2 separate regions of the Homo sapiens genome follow, and region 2 is linked to region 1. Evidence: promoter capture Hi-C in 16 types of primary human blood cells and fetal thymus (Javierre and others, 2016). All regions are on one chromosome and are shown on one strand. The core of a region is centred on a gene start or on the middle of the fragment in contact, and the rest is flanking DNA. Distances in the headings are between cores, read along the strand shown. Region 1 holds the start of TRIM69 (tripartite motif containing 69). Region 2 overlaps EIF3J (eukaryotic translation initiation factor 3 subunit J).

Region 1 (7,550 bases), core at 2,259-4,758:
GCCCGATCTCGGCTCACTGTGAGCTCTGTCTTCTGGGTTCATGCCATTCTCCTGCCTCAGCCTCCCAAGTAGCTGGGACTACAGGCACCCACCACCACGCCCCGCTAATTTTTTTGTATTTTTAGTAGAGATGGGGTTTCACCGTGTTAGCCATGATGGTCTCCATCTCCTGACCTTGTGACCTGCCTGCCTCGGCCCCCCAAAGGGCTGGGATTACAGGCGTGAGCCACCGCACCCAGCCACTTTCTCTTGATAAGAAGACCACTGACTATGGGCTGGTTCTGGCCAGTTTATAGAGGCTAAGCACCCTTGTTCCTTCCTGTCCTGAACAGGCATTTTGACTTATAGGGTCTAATTGTTATGCATTTAAGTGTTAAGTCTCCACCTTAGGCCTGGCGTGGTGGCTCACGCCTGTAATCCCAGCACTTTGGGAGGCTGAGGTGGGTGAATCACTTGAGGTCAGGAGTTTGAGACCAGCCTGGCCAACATGGCAAAACCCCGTCTCTACTAAAAATACAAAATTAGCTGAGTGTGGTGGTGCACGCCTGTAATCCCAGCTACTTGGGAGACTGAGGAAGGAGAATCATTTGAACCTCAGAGGCAGAGATTGCAGTGAGCTGAGATGGCGCCACTGCACTCCAGTCTGGGTGACAGAGTAAGACTCCGTCGCGAAAAACAAAAAACAAACAATAACAACAACAAAAAGAGTTAAGTCTCCACCTCAAAGTGAACATGGGTTGTATGTTACATGCATGTTTGTTCAATAAGCATGAGTCAGGATGACCTTCATAATTATTCATAGCTCCTCCTGTAACCTGTTGAATATGTATGTTTAGCCAACCTATTCAGCATCAAGTTCCTACCCCTGCTCCTCCTTTGAAGTGCCTGTCTCTGGTCTTTGCCAGAGATTGTACTTCCTGGCCTGTGGGATGGCCACCTTGCAGGCCTTTAACGCTTTATAAGAAATAAAGTCTCCTCTCCAAATTTATGGATGTTGTGAGTTCTGTGTTAACAAAGTAGAGAGAAGGAATTTGGGAGACTGACAACTTTGCAAACCAGAGCCACTATAGAAGTTTGGACTTTTACTTAAGAGAGAAATAAATTTCATTCTTGCTTAAGCAACTTTTATACTGGGTATATTAGTCAGGTTGACATACAAAATTAACCATCACTCTGGGTCTCGTTTACAGCAATGGAATTTTTTTATTTTTTATTTTTATTTTTTGAGACAAGGTCTTACTCTGTCAACCATGCTGGAGTGCAGGGATATGATCATGGCTTACTGCAGCCTCGACCTCCTGGGCGCAAATGATCCTCCCACCTCAGCCTCCTGAGTAGCTGGCACCACAGGCACGTGCCAACATGCCTGGCTAATTTTTAAATTTTTTGTAGGGACAGGGTCTCGCCATCTTGCCCAGGCTGGTCTTGAACTCCTGGGCTCAGGTGATCCTCCCACCTTGGCCCCCCAAAGTGCTGAGATTACAGGCATGAGCCACCATGCCTGGACACTGTTTTTAAATAGTGAAAAAAAGACTTGAAGTACTCTTTGTGAAGATTGAGACTTCTTGCTACATAGGATTTGGAATCACAGGCTTCTAGAGACAGAAGGGGGTCTTAGGAATTCACATTTTAAAGAAGGAGGAACTGACACCCATAGGAGTTAAATGTCTTAGCTAAGGCTATTCAGTGCTCTGGTGGTGAGAGACAAGGCTTCCATCTTCTAGGCCAGTACTCTTACCCCTAGGCTAAAGGTTCAAAAATGTGCAGGCGCTGGCTTTAGTAAAATCAGCTATACTAAGCATTGTCAAATGTTTTAGCCAACAACAAAAACAATCAAGATGAAACAAAATTACTTTTTTGACTAAGTGATCACCAGCATTTCATAGACATTTATCTGACAAAGGTTTTGATCTAACAAATGCCATGTATTGCCAAGGTGAGCAAGATACAGTACTACCTATCCTGTGGTTTGTTCACAACTTAGTGGAGGGGCAGACATGCAATCAAACAATTAGAATACACTCTGTTAAAGCCACGTGTACAAAGATCTAGGGTGCTATAGAAATGTGTAAAACTAGGCCAGGCGTGGTGTTGCTCACACCTGTAATCCTAGCACTTTGTGAGGCTGAGGTGGGAGGACAGCTTGAGCTCAGAAATTTGAGATCAGCCTAGGCAACATAGTGAGACCCTGTCAGAAAGAAAAGAAAAAAGAAAAGAAAAGAAGGAAAGAAAGAGAAAGAGAAAGAAAGGGAGAAAGAAAGAAAGAGAGCAAGAGAGAAAGAAAGAGGAAAAAGAAAGGAAGAAAGAGAAAGAAACAGAGAGAGAAAGAAAGGGAGAAAGAAAACAGAAAGAGAGAGAAAGAAAGAAAGAGAAAGAAAAAAAGAAAGAGGAAAGAAGGAAGGAAGGAAGGAAGGAAGGAAAGAAGGAAGGAAGGAAGGAAGGAAGGAAGGAAGGAAGGAAGGGAGTAAAGCTGTGTTTCTCAACTGGGGAGTGATTCCAACCCCTGCCCCCAGGAGACATTTGGCAATGACTGGAGACATTTTTGTTATGACTGGGTTTGGTGGGGGGGGGGTGGCTACAGGCATCTAGTGTGTAAACGCCAGGGACACTGCTAAATATCCTAAAATTCACAGGACAGCCCCTCTAACGTAAGACTTAGCAGGCCCAAAATATCAATAGGGCTGAGGTTGGTAACCTCTGGTATAGAGCCAGCAAAATATCTTCTACAAGAGACAGGGAAGTGGGTAAAGCTTGGTTTGGGGATGAGGGGGTGGTTAGGGAAGAGTTTAGTAAAGAGATAATGACGGGGGTGTGGGGGAAGGGAAACTCCCATCCGAAGGGACAACATATACAAAGCTGCAGAAGCGTGACATATTTGGGCGATCCCAAACACTGGGGAAAGAGCTGTGGTCATTAAGTCTGGACAGCTAGGCAGGAGCTAGACGTGCAAGAAATCATATTGAGTTAGAGGAACTACTGTAAGAAAAACTGTTTGGCTCTGTGGTGGCTCTTTATAAGTCACTCAGGAGCACAGTGTTGGTACATCTCTCTGCGAGCTAAAACTGCTGAAGAAAGCTGTATGAAATGAAGCTTTTTTCATCCTGCTTTCTTAGGGCCTGGTGTTTCCCAGGCCTGTGTTACTGTCTCAGAGATAAAATCAGGGCTGCTTCATTGGAATATGAGAGGTGAACTAGCTCTCTATTAAAGCCACTCAGCTGGTGTCTTGATGGTGTGATGGGATCATGAACAGGGGTGAGGTGGTTATTTTTCATGAGTTAGGCTTAATATAGGCTGCTGCTGACGTGTATTTCCTCTTTCATAGAGCATCCTTAGTCCAGAAATGGGGAGCTATGAACCTTAAGATTAGACCACTAACTCGAATCTAAATGAGCTGCCCTTGTCTCCTACAAAAGAAAAGTTGGGCAGGTAGGGTATTCTAATGAGGGTTTCTCTTTCTCTTAAGCAAATGATGATCAAAGTTAACTGACAAACTGTCACGGAATCTGCCAGACCTCACTCTGGCCTTGCTGCTTCTCTCCAGCTCCTGAACTTTTCTTTCTTCCATCATGCTCTGAGCCCATTCCTTGAAAACTAAAAGGTCCCTGACTCCCAGTCTGCAGCCATCCTGGGCCTGCTGAGCTCTGATTCAAGTGCCTGCCTCTGCCCCTTGGTGGGCTGAAGCTTCATGGAGGTGAGTGACCCTTTTTTTTTTTAACTTAGCAGGGCTTCTAGGAATAGTGTGGAAAACAGGATCATAGAAGAGGATATGGATTTAGGAGCACAAAAGGAAATTCATGAAGGGAAGTATTTAACTTGTGACAGCTGGTAGCTACTATACTCTCTCCAAGCCTTGGAATAACTGATAATTTATACTAGAGAAGCTGGTAGGAAAGTAATGAAATCCACCAAAACATTTTGAGAAAAAATAAACTATATACTATATACAATTTACTTTCATTATCAATGTAATCATTTTATTTTAGATTTAAAAATTATTATGTATAACTTGGTTTGCTTACAATACCTTCACATTTGATTATTTTATATTTAAGGCAGAGTTGATACTTAGATAGTAAACATTTTTAATTGAATTCTTCCTTTAAGACCTCTTCAGAGCTAAAATAAAGGAAGTTATGTTCTTCTGAACTTAGTGTTTTCCTGATTGTCAAACAAAAGAAAATGGTTATTTACTACATGAAAGCTTGAAAAACTCACTAAGGGTTTTTCAGGGGCCCTTGAATCCTGAGTTATCATCCATTTCCACTAGTTTCCACTTCTTATAAAGTTTAATTTCATTATATTAATCATTAAGATCAGTTTCTAATTTCCTCTATCATAGGACCTTTAGGTTTGCTGCTACTCATCTCTGTGCTTAGCTATTGAAGCAAACAGGGCTATAAGCATTTTGTTTATAATTTCTAGGGCAAAAATAAACACTATTGCCTAAACCTACTATATTCTTATTACTTTAAGGCCAAGTCAGTGAAAATAGACACTTTTCCATAATAGTAAAAAAATTGTTTGTGTGATAGTGAGTTTCCCATTACTTCAGATGTTCAGGCAGAGGTTGGAAAGGAGTGAATTAAATGGCTTAAAATTTCTTTCAACTCTGGGAAGCTCCAAGAAGTCAGAAAGTTCAGAATCTTGCCTTCTTATGTGCAAATGGCTTGACTCGTGAAGCAGGAGTGTGTCTTGCTCTTAGGTTTAAGCTGGCTGTGCTATATAGTTTGTCTCTGTGGATGAACTGTATTTTTCTGCTCTCAAAGTTAATTCTTCATAAAAACTGCCCATCAAAGTTTAAAAATTACTTTGAAGGAATAAAGGTTGAAAAGCAACAAATGAACTCTCCTTAGATATCTTAACTATGATTTCAAAAATTTACAACACAAAACTTCTCAGGAAAAAAAAATCTCTGGTAAAAATTAAGGATTTCTTATGCAAGCTTCCATGGACTTCATAGCTCTTTGCCTTTTCTCTGCTCTTTGAGAATGTGCACAGTGAACTGAAGGAGGAAGATACATACTTTCTTTCTTTCTTTTTTTTTTTTTTTTTTTTTTAGGACAGAGTCTCACTCTCTTGCTCAGGCTGGAGTGCAGTGGCACCATCTCAGCTCACTGCAACCTCCGCTTCCAGGGTTCAAGTGATTCTCATGCCTCAGCATCCCAAATAGCTGGGACTGCAGGGACGCACCACCACGCCTGGCTAATTTTTGTATTATTATTTTTTTTTTTAGTAGAGATGAGGTCTCACCATGTTACCCAGGCTTGTCTCCAACTCCTGACCTCAGGTGATCCTCCTGCCTCAGCCTCCCAAAGTGAGGCTAAGATTACAGGCCTGGGCCATCGTGACCTGCTGATGTGCTTTCTTATAAAGTGATTCCTGCCAGCCAGGGCTTTATAAGGATGAATATCAATTCCTGACTCGAGTTTCTCTCTCTCTGCCTTAAGGTTAGACTTCTTCCCCTAAAAGGGGCTGGCAGTAGATGTGTTTCCTAAAAGATTTCCAGGTCCAGAAATTTTAGACTCTCATTTGGTTTCCAATTCTATAGCTCCCTCTAGAGCAGTAGGAAGTTATTGCAGATATTTTGCTTCACAAATTTGATCCATTTAATAAATTCAATTCCACAAAACATATTGATGGGCTCTCTGCTGACTCAGTGGTTAATAGGCTTTGGGGTCAAATAAAGAGTTCAAATCTGAGACCCACTACTTAATAATTGTGACTCTGGGAAGATACTTGAAGCAATCTGAGCTTCAGTTTCCTTAAAATATGTAGTAATAATACGTATTTCATAGGGTTGTTCTGAGATTAAATGAAATAATGTATGTAAATCCTCTTCCACAGTGAATGCTCAGTAAATATTAGCTAATATAATTAATCCCTTGTTTTACAGAAAAGGATATATTATTGAAAGTCAGGGGAATTGGCAAACCCTCAGCTAGCAAGATGAATTAACCATATAAAACCAGTCAATCATATAATATCAATAATTAATAACATTAAATATATTTTCATATCATATAACTCACCCTTTTGAAGTTTACAATTCAGTGATTTATAGCATATTCACAAAGTTGTACAATTATCACCACTATCTAATTCCAGAACATTTTCATTATCCCCAAAAGAAATTCCATACCCATTATCAGTCACTTCCCGTTCCTCTTTGCCCTGCCTTGGTAACCGCTATATATTTTAAACATACTTTAAAAACACACGGAGGGGGCAGCCAAGATGGCTGAATAGGAACAGCTCTGGTCTACAGCTCCCAGCGTGAGCGATGCAGAAGACGGGTGATTTCTGCATTTCCATCTGAGGTACCAGTTTCATCTCACTAGGGAGTGCCAGACAGTGGGCGCAGGACAGTGGGTGCAGCGCACCGTGCGTGAGCCGAAGCAGGGCGAGGCATTGCCTCACTCGGGAAGCGCAAGGGGTCAGGGAGGTCCCTTTCCTAGTCAAAGAAAGGGGTGACAGACGGCACCTGGAAAATTGGGTCACTCCCACCCTAATACTGTGCTTTTCCGACGGGCTTAAAGAACGGTGCACCAGGAGATTATATCCTGCACCTGGCTCGGAGGGCCCTACGCCCATGGAGTCTCGCTGATTGCTAGCACAGCAGTCTGAGATCAAACTGCAAGGCGGCAGCGAGGCTGTGGGAGGGGCGCCCACCATTGCCCAGGCTTGCTTAGGTAAACAAAGCAGCCGGGAAGCTCGAACTGGGTGGAGCCCACCACAGCTCAAGGAGGCCTGCCTGCCTCTGTAGGCTCCACCTCTGGGGGCAGGGCACAGACAAACAAAAAGACATCAGTAACCTCTGCAGACTTAAATGTCCCTGTCTGACAGCTTTGAAGAGAGCAGTGGTTCTCCCAGCACGCAGCTGGAGATCTGAGAATGGGCAGACTGCCTCCTCAAGTGGGTCCCTGACCCCTGACCCCCTAGCAGCCTAACTGGGAGGCACCCCCAAGTAGGGGCAGACTGACACCTCACATGGCCGGGTACTCCTCTGAGACAAAACTTCCAGAGGAATGATCGACAGCAGCATTCGCGGTTCACGAAAATCCACTGTTCTGCAGCCACCGCTGCTGATACCCAGGCAAACAGGGTCTGGAGTGGACCTCTAGCAAACTCCAATAGACCTGCAGCTGAGGGTCCTGTCTGTTAGAAGGAAAACTAACAAACAGAAAGGACATCCATACCAAAAACCCATCTGTACATCACCATCGTCAAAGACCAAAAGTAGATAAAACCGCAAAGATGGGGAAAAAACAGAGCAGGAAAACTGGAAACTCTAAAAAGCAGAGCGCCTCTCTTCCTCCAAAGGAACGCAGTTCCTCACCAGCAACAAAACAAAGCTGGATGGAGAATGACTTTGACAAGTTGAGAGAAGAAGGCTTCAGATGATCCAACTACTCCGAGCTACAGGAGGAAATTCAAACCAAAGGCAAAGAAGTTAAAAACTTTGAAAAGAATTTAGATGAATGTATAACTAGAATAACCAATACAGAGAAGTGCTTAAAGGAGCTGATGGAGCTTGCTGTATTCAGGAAACC
Region 2 (7,550 bases), core at 2,676-5,175, 190 kb before region 1:
CACTGCACCTGACCTATTTATTTTGAGACGGATTTGTGAGACTGGCTAATTTTTGTGTTTTTGGTAGAGGTGGAGTTTCGCCAAGTTGCCCAGGCTGGTCTCAAACTCCTGAGGTTAAAGCGATCTTCCCGCCTTGGCCTCCCAGAGTGCTGAGATTACAGGTGTGAGCCACTGCACCTGGCCTATTTATTTTGAGACAGATTTGTGAGACTGGCTAATTTTTGTGTTTTTGGTAGAGATAGAGTTTCGCCAAGTTGCCCAGGCTGGTCTCGAACTCTTGGAGTCAAGTGATCTATCCTCCTCAGCCTCCTAAAATGCTGGGATTATGGGCGTGAGCCAGCAGACTCAGCCATATCACCAAATTTCTGAATTCTTATGTTTTTGTACTTTTTATGAGGAGTTGCAGACAAGGCTTAGTTTCCGTGAGGTCTTCTGTTCATGTCAGCATCTAGTACTTAACCTTTAAAAATACAGGTTTAATGTCATTTGTAATGTCCTGGGAAATGAAAGGAAAACTGATGTTTTTGTTATTATAATTTGCTCCAGCACTTTACTCTCATTTAGTAGACTTAGTATTTTGCTGTCCTTGACTTTTCAAATAGCTGTCTGGCAGTGGCAGAAGTGGACTTAGGTGAAACTGTACAACCGTTAATATATATGGCAAGAAAAGACTATGCTTTTCCCCAGTTAAAAAGATGAGAACTCGGGAGCATAGTTTCCCATCACCCTGGCTTTATTTACCTTTTTTACTATCCTGATAGTTGTGCAGAGGTAGTGGGAAGAATTGTTCACTTGGCATATATGACTCCTTCCTCATTGCTGGTATGATATGTAGGATGTGTTGACTGAGAAGGCAGTGAGTACCTACTGGACACAAGGACAACATAACTTTTGCTCCATTTTACTAGTCTCCTAGCATTTCAGTAGAACAGTTTAGAAGCTAGATTTATTCAAAGGGTACAGAGTTTGCAGAAACTTATAGCTGTGTTCAGCCATCTCACGCATTTGCCTCTGTAACCATATAGCATTTCTTTTAAAAGATCCTGAAGAGGCTGAGGCAAGAGGATTGCGTGAGCCTAGGAGTTTGAAGCCAGCCTGGGCAACATAGCAAGACCCCAACACATTTAAAGAGAGAGCGATCCTGAAGAACAGATTTAGTTGAGCCTCTCTCGTCCTACTCATTCACTCTCTGTTAGGATCCTATTCCAATAAATAGTTTGAATCTACCAGATAGGGACAATTTTCAGGGGTTGGAAACAACTTCTAAAGAACAGGATCTGTATTTTACAGAATGTGAAATTACTAGGAAATACCCAGAAGGTGGGCATTTTGCCAGAAAATGGGTATTTTGAAGAGAGTGTGTGTATGTGTAACTTAAGAAAAATTCCAAACATGCAGTAGAGAGAAACATTTAATAAACCAGTGACCAGTCTTGTCTCCTCTGTATCCCCACTTTCCTCCTCCAACCAGATTATTTTCAAGAAAATCTCAATCATATCATTTCATACCCTGCCACTTTTATAAACTAGCAAGTTTTGAATTAGGAAGCATGTTTGTTATTGAAAAATATTTTCTTGTCATGATGGATCATTGTAAATAAACCACTTGTTTAGTGTTCAGTGTCTTGATATCGCTGAGCCAGAAATTTAAAGTAGATTGATAACTGTCCTGAATATGAGACAGGTAGGCATTGAGATGGAACTCAGCTGAGTGCTGATCCATTGTAGTATGTTAAAAGCTTAATGAATTGAATTAAATGAAGTAGAATTTACTAAGGCAGGCACCTTGGCTTCTAGGCACCCAGCATAGTTCTGAGATGGTGGAAGAACATTTTGGCTTTTAAAAAACTGAACTTTGCTGGGAAGTCTACCCTTGCCAAGATCTCGTTGCACAGTTCTGAGTTCTCTCAGAACTGCACAGCTTACAGAACACAAATTAAAGGCTTTTTTTTTCTTTCCCAGCAAGAGATTATGTTTTACCTAAACCAAATTATTTAAAGAAAAAAGGAGAAGGAGTATATGTTAGTTCCTAGGCTGTTGCTATAGGGCAAAAGAGTTTTATTGCTCGTTTGAAGCTACTTCTATTTGACAATCTATAAATACATCTTGCTTAAGTTGGAAAGCATTTTCAGCCCTAAATGTGTTCTCATTGCATGTGACATAATGTAGTTTTATATTATGAAGACAGAACCAGCTAACTACTGGCCACATTGTTAGAAATAAAAAGAAAGCAAGATATAAAGTTTTCTGCTTTGCTTCTGATACTTAGTTGTGTTCAATTAGGGAAGCAAGTTTTAAAGTTAAAAAGCAGCCATCTCTTTCATAGAAATAGCTTAAATGATGGGTGTGTATCTGCAGGGCAAGAGTATAGATAAGCAAGTAGTTTATAAACAGGCCCTATTCTAAGAAGCTAGCCATTTTAGGAGAGCAGCCTGGGTGATTCTTTTGAAGATAAATTGGATATTATAGTTGAAAGATTAATTGGCTACCAAAAATAATTGGGTAAAGGATTTAATTGGATGTTCATAGGTAGTCTCTTGAACCAAATAACCATTTAGGGCTCTTTGAAGTGAGTTGTAGACTTGCTCCCTATTTTAAGTGTTAATTTTAGCTGTTTCTCTAGGAAGCCTTTTTACATTTTATCTGAATTTGCTGCTGGAATTTACAAACTTCTAATGTTTACAAAAAATTGGGCATATTTTTTGAAGCAGCGTGGTGAACATTCTACCTTAAATCTACTTTTCAGACACTTAATTTTATAACTATGGAAACAAAAACTCTAACTTCCTGGGGAAAGCTACCTGGCCTTTTGCTTTTATAATTACATCTGTTTGGAAGTGTGACCAGTCTCTTTTTGCTGACACTTACTATGCTCCTTTCTTTAGGGGCTTAGTGCTAGTTTGGTAGTAACTTCAGGGCAGACTTGTAAGCACTTTGGGGAGAGAGTGACAGTCAAGGTTTGGATGGTCCTTTTATGAATTGAGGAGCAGATGTCATGGCTCTTCTTGGTACATGTTGATAGGAACCACTTTTTTTTTTTTTTTTTGAGATGGAGTTTCGCTGTCTCCAGGCTGGAGGGCAGTGGCGCAGTCTCGGCTTACTGCAACCTCCGCCTCCTGGGTTCAAGCGATTCTCCTGCCTCAGCCTCCCAAGTAGCTGGGACTACAGGTGTGCGCCACCACACCCAGCTAATTTTTGTATTTTTAGTAGAGATGGGGTTTCACCATGTTGGCCAGGATGGTCTCGATCTCTTGACCTCGTGATCTGCCTGCCTTGGCCTCCCAAAGTGCTGGGATTACAGGCATGAGTCACCACGCCTGGCCAGAATCACTTCTTTTGCTACTAAAATCCATTCTGTGATGGAGTAGGGAATGTCTAGGTAGCTTCATTATGTCTGCATTGATGTGTGTCTGGGGTAAGGTTTATGCTTTGATGGGAGAAACTAGGGACAGGGATAGAGGTGGACATAGAGTTGGTGTGAATGTACTGAGGGAGCAGTGATATGGGTGGGGTGGGGGTTATGTTTTTCTGGGAAGGGTAACTGAAGAGCATCAACATTAAATAAAAATGCTCCTGTGTTGAGTTTGTTTCTTTACCTTGGAGGTATTGAGATGGAGCTCCTTATTTTCAGCCATACTTCTTCCTTCTTGACCTCTTACTACCAGAGGCTTGCAGACCAGTTTTTTTCTTTTTTCTTTTCTTTTCTTTTCTTTTTTTTTTTTTTAGACGGAGGCCTTCTCTATCACCCAGGCTGGAGTGCAGTGGCGTGATCTCGGCTCACTGCAACCTCTGCCTCCCGGGTTCAAAGTGATTCTTGGGCATCAGCCTCCCGAGTAGCTGGGACCACAGGTGCACACCACCACGCCCTGCTAATTTTTTTTGTATTTTTAGTAGAAACAGGGGTTTGCCATGTTGGCCAGGCTGGTCTTGAACTCCTGAACTCAGGTATTCCACCCACCTTGGCCTTCCAAAGTGTTGGGATTACAGGCGTGAGCCAACTCATCTGGCCCAGTTTCTTAAATTAGTAGAAAACTGGCCAGGCGTGGTGGCTCACACCTGTAATCCCAACACTTTGGGAGGCTGAGGTGGGTGGATCACCTGAGGTCGGGAGTTCAGGACCAGCCTGACCAACATGGAGAAACCCATCTCTACTAAAAATACAAAATTAGCCAGTTCGTGGTAGCACATGCCTGTAATCCCAGCCACTTGGGAGGCTGAGGCAGGAGAATCGCTTGAACCCAGGAGGCAGAGGTTGCGGTGAGCTGAGATCGTGCCATTGCACTCCAGCCTGGGCAATAAGAGCAAAACTCCATTTAAAAAAAAAAAAAAAAAAAAAGGTGGGAGGGGCCAGGCACGCCTGTAATCCCAGCACTTTGGGAGGCTGAGGTGGGTGGATCACGAGGTCAAGAGATCAAGATTATCCTGGCCAACATGGTGAAACCCGGTCTCTACTAAAAACACAAAAATTAGCTAGGCATGGTGGTGCATACCTGTAGTCCCAACTACTCAGGAGGCTGAGGCAGGAAAATTGCTTGAACCTAGGAGGCGGAGGTTGCAGTGAGCTGAGATTGCGCCACTGCACTCCAGCCTGGCGACACAGTGAGACTCCATCTCAAAAAAAAAAAAAAGATCAGTAGAGAACCACTACAGGCAATTTAAGGTGAGAAGTTTGGTAACCAGTATACCTCTAGCTGGGCATATCTTAATATGTGTAATAATCCTTCTCTTTATGAGATTCCCAGAGTTCCCAGGAGAGGGACTTAGTTCCCAGTTAGTTATTTTATACTTCAGGACTCAGGGAAGAAGTCATATTTACTATAATACTATTTTTATTTTTATTATTTTGCATTGGAATTGCATTGGAATTGCTTTATTCCAGCGAATTAAATTGTTTACCAGACTGTGAATTTTGTAAGCAAGTGTTTAAAACATGCTTTTTAAAGACCTTCCTTAACATTGTGTTTAAAGCCTTAAATGAAGCTGTTTACATGTATACATTTAAAGGATGTATCTCAGCATGTTACTCTAAAGATGTGTTGTAAGCTGCTTTATTACAGTGAATTGAACTCTACTAAACCGTGAACTTTGTAAGCAAGTGTTTAAAACATGCTTTTTAAAAAAGTAAATCATTTTATTTTCAATAAAAAGGTCAGTCAAATGTTTAGTTATTTAAAACTTTTTTAAAATTAGTTTTTATAATTGGCAAATAATGTACATATTTATGGGGTATATTGTGATGTTTCAATGCATGTATACATTGTAATTACCATTTCATCACTTTAAACATTTATCATTTCTTTGTGGTGTTAACATTCAAAATTTTCTTATGGAACTATCTTGAAATATATAACATTGTTATTAGCTATAATCACCGTACTGTGTAATAGAACACCAGAACTTATTCTTCTAACTGTAACTTTATACCTATGACACTTTAAAGAACTTTGGTCCATTCAGAGCAGGTCCCTTAGTTTTTCACTGAGATTGTGGGTTGGCTATGTCTGGGCCTGGGTTTCCTTTTCTTTAAAATGGGGGAATAACACTACCTTCTTACAGGACTGTTGTGAGAATTAACCTTGTTACTACACCTGTTTCTCAGAAGGGTTTTAAATATGCATCTTCTGGAAGTAAGCAAATGGTCCTCCTATCTGAAACACTGCCCCCTATCACTCACAGATCCAGCCTTCCTGTGTTCTGTGAAGATTTAAACAACAAAAAATGCCTAGTAATTCACTTTTATTTTTAGCTCTTTGGTTCCTTTTGTACTGTGATGTATAGCACTTAGCAAACTAACGGCGAAATACAAACGTTTGATCTCTAATTTCTAACTCTAGTATCACAGTTACTCAAATAATGACTAGCTGGTTTGCTTTCAATCTGTTAAAACTGCGAGCTGTGGGTTAAATTGCTGAAGTAAGATGAATATAAAAATACACTTACTTTTTAATACAAAGTTCCTTTAATTATGCTTGCAGACTGTATGACAGCCTTAATCAGGATGTTGAATTTTTAATTTCTTTACTGGACTTAGAGATTTTTATTAAGAACCAAGGCTTGGTTAGTTTATATTCCTAGACTGATACAAATTTGTGATCTGTCGTGTTATGAAACCAGAAGCTTGGTGTCATATTGTGGCATATTAGTCATACTAGTCAGCCTTTGCTTCTTTAGTAGCATCAGGGCCTCTTGCCCTGCTTTTGCCATCTTGCCACTCAGCTTCAAATGGCATGTCATAGTGTGCCTGGTGGCTGCTGAGACAATGGCCAGGCTACCTATGATTAAAGCCATCTTTAATCATAGGGCTGTGTCTGTCCCTATTAAACTTGAGCCTTCTAAGTTCTGTGGAGCTTTTAGAAAATTGTGTTTGATAATTGGTTTATATTTAGCTCAATGATTGAGTTAGGCATAGAAAAAACAGAGTATAGATCTTTTTTTTTTTTTTTTTTTTTTTTTTTTGAGACAGAGTCTCTGTTGCCTAGGCTGGAGTGCAGTGGCTCGATCCTGGCTCACTGCAGCTTCGCCTCCTGTGCTCAAATGATTCTTGTTCCTCAGCATCCTGAGTGGCTAGGATTACGGGCGTGCACCACCATGCCCACCTAATTTTTGTATTTTTTAGTATAAACGGGGTTTCATCATGTTGGCCAGGCTGGTCTCGGAACTCCTGGTCTCAAGTGATCTGCCTGCCTCGGCCTCCCAAAGTGCTGGGATTAAAGTGCCCTGAGTTAGAGAGTGGGATCCATGAAGGCTTGATTAGCTGTTGACTTTTTTTTGTGAGACGGAGTTTCATTCTTGTTGCCCAGGCTGGAGTGCAATGGCGCGATCTCGGCTCACCACAGCCTCTGTCTCCTGGGTTCAAGCAATTTTCCTGCCTCAGCCTCCCGAGTAGCTGGGATTACAGGCATGTGCCACCACACCCAGCTAATTTTGTATTTTTAGTAGAGACGGGGTTTCTCCATGTTGGTCAGGCTGGTCTTGCATTCCCGACCTCAGGTGATCTGCCTGCCTTGGCCTCCCAAAGTGTTGGGATTACAGGCGTAAGCCGGCCTTGATTCTTTTTTTTTTTTTTTTTTTTTTTTGAGACGAAGTCTCGCCGCACTGTCACCTGGGCTGGAGTGCAGTGGCACAATCTTGGCTCACTGCAACCTCCCACTCCTGGGTTCAAGTGATTCTCCTGCCTCAGCCCCCAAGTAGTTGGGATTATAGGTGTCTGCCACCACGCCCAGCTAATTTTTTGTATTTTTAGTAGAGACAGGGTTTCACTATGTTGGCCAGGCTGGTCTCAAACTCCTGACCTCGTGATCCGCCCACCTCAGCCTCCCAAAGTGCTGGGATTACAGGCATGAGCCACGCACCCGGCCTGACTCCTTTTTAATAGTGGGCTTTAGAATTATATAGACTTAATTCATTAACCAGGCTTATGTTGTATGGAATACTACTTGAAATAAATGAGCTATTGGCCAGAGTATAGGATGCTTTTTACATTTGGGGGGAAGTAAGAACTATAAAGTTCTCTCAGTTTTTATTTATTAATAACTGAATCACTTTCAGAGA

Evidence for each region. Contacts are between HindIII fragments. The CHiCAGO score rates a contact against its expected background, and 5 or more counts as called.
Region 2: a contact is called between a fragment that was not itself captured here and the fragment with the promoter of TRIM69 in region 1, in 5 of 17 cell types (naive CD4 T cells, activated CD4 T cells, naive CD8 T cells and 2 more). The highest score is 7.5, in naive CD4 T cells.

The regions. Positions count from the first base shown.
Region 1 is chr15:44,733,020-44,740,569 of GRCh38, forward strand. It overlaps TRIM69 (tripartite motif containing 69), which reads left to right and starts at 3,509. Exons shown (of 7, transcript NM_182985.5): 1 at 3,509-3,691. The coding sequence starts at 3,686. The HindIII fragment of the contact is 591 bases long and covers 3,089-3,679 here.
Region 2 is chr15:44,540,390-44,547,939 of GRCh38, forward strand. All of the region lies in intron 2 of EIF3J (eukaryotic translation initiation factor 3 subunit J), which reads left to right. Among named protein-coding and RNA genes, the nearest start is that of EIF3J, 7.0 kb to the left of the region's middle. The HindIII fragment of the contact is 4,378 bases long and covers 1,737-6,114 here.